Linked DNA regions of Homo sapiens: region 2 is linked to region 1. Evidence: promoter capture Hi-C in 16 types of primary human blood cells and fetal thymus (Javierre and others, 2016). All regions are on one chromosome and are shown on one strand. The core of a region is centred on a gene start or on the middle of the fragment in contact, and the rest is flanking DNA. Distances in the headings are between cores, read along the strand shown.

Region 1 (2,752 bases), core at 160-2,659:
GAGACAGGGTTTCACCTTGTTGGTCAGGCTGGTCTCCAATTCCTGACCTCAGGTGATCCACCCGCCTCGGTCTCCCAAAGCGCTGGGATTCCAGGCGTGAGCCACCGCGCCCGGCCTAGTTTGACTCTTTTCGTGGACAGTTTGAAGTGTGGAATGCAAGAATATTCAGGGTTATTTGTCAGGCTGCAAAGTTGTTCCACTACCCTGCGGGAAAATGGATACAATTTTAGGCTTAGGTGTTAACAGATAACATTGTTAAGTGTGGGAAGGGCGACAACTGCACTGCAGCTGTGGCCAGTGGCGCGGGAGGGTGTCTAAACTCAAAGCCCACTGGAAGGCGAGTCGCCCATGACCAGGACTAGGGCCCAGGTGCCCCAGATAGAAGGCACCTCGTTCCCTATTGCCCCTCACTAACTCCCGTGACCAGGAGTCCCCACTCCCAACCTTGTCCTGGGGATTCTGGGGAGAAACTGCCCCAGCGCAGAGGCTACTCCAAGGGTTGTCCTTGGTCCGGCGCAAAGGGTTCGTCCGCCACCCTCCCGGCTGCGCACCCCGCGCTCGGACGCTCTAGAAAGGACTTGGGACGGGGGTTGCCTGTGGAGCGGGGGCCTAGGCTTCCTGAGCAGGGAGAGGATTGCACTTTGCTCCCCTTGGGGAACTCCCTGAGGTGAGCAGCGGGGAGGGGCCCCCATACTTTTCCCAGCAGGGGAGCCGGGAGTTTCCTCTGCTCCCACTGCAGAGCAGGGGAGGGTCCCTGCTAGGGGCGGAGAAGGGGCTGCAGGGGCGAGTGGGGAGGGGGGCTACACGTTTCCAAGAAGGGCGGCAGTTTCGTGTCGCTACAGTTGCAGGCGTGCATTTAGGAGGCTGTAGACAGGGAGGGACCCGCACTTTCCCGAGCAGGGGAGCTGCTGGGAAAGTTTGTTTTTTTGCTCCCACTGGAGACCAGGGGGTGAGGGGCGGAGAAGTGGCTGCAGGGGCGAGTGGGGAGAGGGGGCTCTATGTTTCCAAGAAGGGCGGCAGTTTTGTGCCACTACAGTTAAGGGCCGCCCTCGGGCGTGCATTCAGAGGGCTGTAAACCGGGAGGGACCCGCACTTTCCCGAGAACGTTGTAGTTCACTTTGCTTCGGGTCGGCGCCGCCCTGGCTACGGCCCTGTGGGTGGGTGAGGGGGCGTGGGCAGTTTCCTGAGAAGGGGCGGGGCGTGTACCGTACTCCCCTCGGCGCTGCCTGGGCCACCCCCGCCCGCCTACCCCCTCTGTCTCCTCCCCGGGCCCGGCGTTCCCGCCCCTTCTGTGCGCGCGTGGAGGCCGGGGCGGGGCGGGCGCAGCCGGCGCTGAGCTTGCAGGGCCGCTCCCCTCACCCGCCCCCTTCGAGTCCCCGGGCTTCGCCCCACCCGGCCCGTGGGGGAGTATCTGTCCTGCCGCCTTCGCCCACGCCCTGCACTCCGGGACCGTCCCTGCGCGCTCTGGGCGCACCATGGCCCGCGGGGCTGCGCTGGCGCTGCTGCTCTTCGGCCTGCTGGGTGTTCTGGTCGCCGCCCCGGGTGAGCGAGCGGAGGGATCCGGGTTGGGGGACGCGGAGGGCGCGGGCCGGGACTGGGGATCCGCTTGAGATGCGGCGTTGGGGGCGCCCCGCGGGGACACCCGGAGCCTCCTCCCTGCCCGGCAGGACGCGCTGTGCCCACGGGGGCCCAGGCCCGGAGGAGGCGCCCACTTTCTCCCCAACGCTTTTCCTGGAGCCGTTCCAGAGAGAAAAGTCAGCGTTTGTTGTCGGAGTTGCAAACTCTTACATGTGGGGCGGCCTTGGGAGAGGTGCGTCCGATTTTTCCCAATCTAGGGGACCTTCTTACAGATCTCTCTCCCTTTGCATGAGCCCCTCACCCCACCCCGTTATCTACCCCCAGGGTTTGGGGACCTGCGTCTTCAGGCCGCGCGCGGAGGCCGCCCTGGAGTTGCCTGTCACAGCCACGCCCTGCGTCCCGGGCCTAAATTTGGAATCGCTAGGAGCCTGAGACCCGGGTGGTGGGGGGAAGGGAAGGAAAAGTTAGAAAAAAACTTTGAGCCCTGAAAATGTTCAAAAATACTCTGTGGATGCGGGCTCCGGGAATTTCAGCGCGTGCTGTGCGCCAAGCAACACGGGGCGCAGAAAGAAACGTGTGCTTACCAAATTGTCCATCTGCGGCGGTGGAGAATTCGGAAAACAGAAAAAGTGGGCAGGGAAGAAAGAGCCACGGTCACCCTCCCACGCCCTAAACCGGGCCTATTTCTAATTATTACTTTAATCATGTTTTTCTGTTTCCCTCCCTTTGAAACGGAAACGGAGACCCTGCCGGATGTGGTATGTTATAAATTCTTTTTTCATGTTATAAATTCTTTTTTCAATGGTCAGTGCATTTTTTGCTCTTCGTATGGGCAGGCTTTTAAGTAGACCGGCTTGCGGGCAGTGTGGACTTCAGGACGGGCCTTATCAGGGCTGGACGTATTTAGGAAGGAGACGCGGGAACGCCCGGCCCTGGGGAGGACGGAGGAGGCCCGATTTGTGTTGATAGGATCTAGCTCAGCCTAGAGCTGCGGTGACTAGGCCGGGTCTCTATTTTTAGGGAGGAGTTGCTAATGGATTTACACCCTCTTTAAAGGGGTCCCGGGTATCCTAGAAATTGTGCTTTCACTTGGTAGAGATTAGAGATAATGAAGCCTGCTCCGTAGAGGAAAACTTGGAGGACTTTCCAGCCTGCAGGGGAGGTTCCAAGCAGA
Region 2 (2,760 bases), core at 125-2,624, 920 kb before region 1:
CCTCAGCCTCCCAAGTAGCTGGGATAACAGGCACGCAGTCACTACATCCGGCTAATTTTTGCATTTTTTTAGTAGAGGTGGGGTTTTTCCATGTTGGCCAGGCTGGTCTTAAACTTCTGACCGCAGGTGATCTGCCTGCCTCGGCCTCCCAAAGTGCTGGGATTATAGGTGTGAGCCACCACGCCCAGCCTATTCATTTATTTGTTATTTGTTTATTTTTATTTTTAGAGATGGGGTCTCAGTCTGTGGCCCAGGCTGCAGTGAAGTGGAAGGAGGAAAAGAATGGGACCTATTTCACCTGGAGTGTCGCATCCACCAATATCAATGCTGCTGAAATGAAGGAGATTCTCTCTCTCTTTCTCTCTAGAGGTGGGGTCTCTGTGGCCCAGGCTGTAGTGCAGTGGGGCCATCATGGCTCACTGTAGGCTTGGCCCCCAGCCTGAAGCAATCCTCCCATCTCAGCCTCCCAAATAGGCCTGACTGCAGATGCTTACCACCACACCTGGCTAAATTTTCTATTTTTATTATTTTATTTTATTTTTTGAGATGGATTCTTGCTCTGTCGCCCAGGCTGCAGTGAAGTGGCATGATCTTGGCTCACTGCAACCTCTGCCTACCGGGTTCAAGTGATGCTCCTGCCTCAGCCTCCCAAGTAGCTGAGACTACAGGTGTGCACCACCACGCCCGGCTAATTTTTGTATTTTTAGTAGAGACGGGGTTTCACAATGTAGGCTAGGATGGTCTGGATCTCTTGATCTCATGATCCACCCTCCTTGGCCTCCCAAAGTGCTGGGACTACAGGCGTGAGCCACTGTGCCCAGCCCCCCTCCCCCACCCTTTTTTTTAAAAGTCTTCTGCAGTGGGCTGAAGTATGTCTCTGCAAAGTTTATGTCCACCAGAACCTCAGAAGGGAAACTTATTTGGAAATAAAGTCTTCGTGGACGTCGTTAAGATGAGGTTGCACTGGAATAGAGTGGGCCCTAAATCCAATGACTGGAGCCCTTGTAAGAAAAAAAGAGAACACACAAAGGAGAAGATGGAGACAGAGGTTGGACTGACACATCTATGAACCAAATGTGTTTGTCTGTTTTTATGCTGCTATAAGAAATACCTGAGTACCTGAGACTCAGGTATTTCTTGCTGCTATAAGAAATACCTGAGTACCTGAGACTGAGTAATTTATTAAGGAAAGAGGTTGAATCAACTCACACTTCCACATAGCTGGGAAAGTCTCAGGAAACTTACAGTCATGGCAGAAGTCAAAGGGGAAGCAAGCACTTCTTCACAAGCTGGTAGGAGAGACAGAGAGTGAGGGGGGAATAGCTAAACACTTATAAAATCATGAGATCGGCCGGCACGTGGTGGCCCATGCCTGCAATCCCAGCCCTTTGGGAGGCTGAGGCGGGTGGGTCACCTGAGGTCAGGAGTTCAAGACCAACCTGACTTACATGGAGAAACACTGTCTCTACTAAAAATACAAAATTAGCCAGGCACAGTGGCTCATGCCTGTAATCCCAGCTACTTGGGAGGCTGAGGCAGGAGAATTGCTTGAACCCGGGAGGCGGAGGTTGCAGTGAGCCAAGATCATGCCATTGCACTCCAGCCTGGGCAACAATAGTGAAACTCCATCTCAAAAACAAAAAACAAAAAAAAAAGAAAACAAAATCATATCTCATGAGCATTCACTCACTATCATGAGAACAGCATGGGGGAAACTGCCTCCCTGATCCAGTCACCTCCCACCAGTTCCCTCCTTGTACACCTGGGGATTTGACATGAGATTTGGGTGGGGGCACAGATGCAAACTATATCGCCAGGCATGCTGAATTAACCGCTTCCCATACCCACATGTAAAACTTCAAAGCTGTCAGTAACGCCTCACGCATGATCCTCTTCCATCAATCCCACCTCCAGTTACGGCCAGAGAAGACACAAGACCCCAGTTCAAAAAACTGTCTTTTTTGTGGAGCTCTTCTTTCTACTAAGACTTTAGTTGTGTATATCAATTGTGACTTCAATTACGTATAATGGATCTCTCCCGATTTGGGTGAGATTACAATTCCTGATGAGATTTGGGTGGGGACACAGAGCCAACCATATAATTGATATGAGCAGGGGGGCTGGTGAAAGGTGATTGGATGACGGGGGCAGAGTTCTCGTGAATGGTTTTCATGAATGGTTTCGCACCATTACCCCCTTGGTACTACAGTAACCGAGTTCTCATGAGATCTGGTTGTTTAAAACTGTGTAACACTTTTTCTGTCTTCTCTCTTCCTCCTGCTCTGGCTAGGTAAGACACTTGTTCTCACTTTGCCTTCTGCCATGTTTGTAAGTTTCCTGATGTCTCCTCTGAGCCTCCAGAAGGAACCAAGCCTACTGATACCTTGATCTCAGCTGTTGGCCTCCAGAAGTTCGAGAGAACAGACGTCTGCTGTTTCAAGCCACGCAGTTGTTGGTATTTTTCTACAACAGCATCTGAATCCTAATGCATGCCCTCTAACTGTGGGATCGATTTTGGGGTGCTGAGATGTGGCCTGTTTCTCCTATGACCTTCCTTGTGTTTTTAGTGCTCTTGGAAGAAGAGAGAATTAAGCATAGAATACCCACAGAGAGGAATCTCTCTTTCTTTTTTTTTTTCTTTGAGACAGAGTCTTGCTCTGTCACCAGGCTGGGAGTTCAGTGGCACGATCTCGGCTCACTGCAACATCCGTCTCTCAGATTCAAGCAATTCTCCTGTCTCAGCCTCCCAAGTAGCAGGGA

The links. Contacts are between HindIII fragments. The CHiCAGO score rates a contact against its expected background, and 5 or more counts as called.
Region 2: a fragment that was not itself captured here is called in contact with the fragment with the promoter of CD99 in region 1 in 1 of 17 cell types (neutrophils); the score reaches 5.2 in neutrophils.

What each region holds. Positions count from the first base shown.
Region 1 is chrX:2,689,886-2,692,637 of GRCh38, forward strand. CD99 (CD99 molecule (Xg blood group)) reads left to right here and starts at 1,410. Exons shown (of 10, transcript NM_002414.5): 1 at 1,410-1,542. The coding sequence starts at 1,476. The HindIII fragment of the contact is 9,076 bases long and covers 1-2,752 here.
Region 2 is chrX:1,768,207-1,770,966 of GRCh38, forward strand. No RefSeq gene overlaps it. Among named protein-coding and RNA genes, the nearest start is that of LINC02968, 37 kb to the left of the region's middle. The HindIII fragment of the contact is 8,292 bases long and covers 1-2,760 here.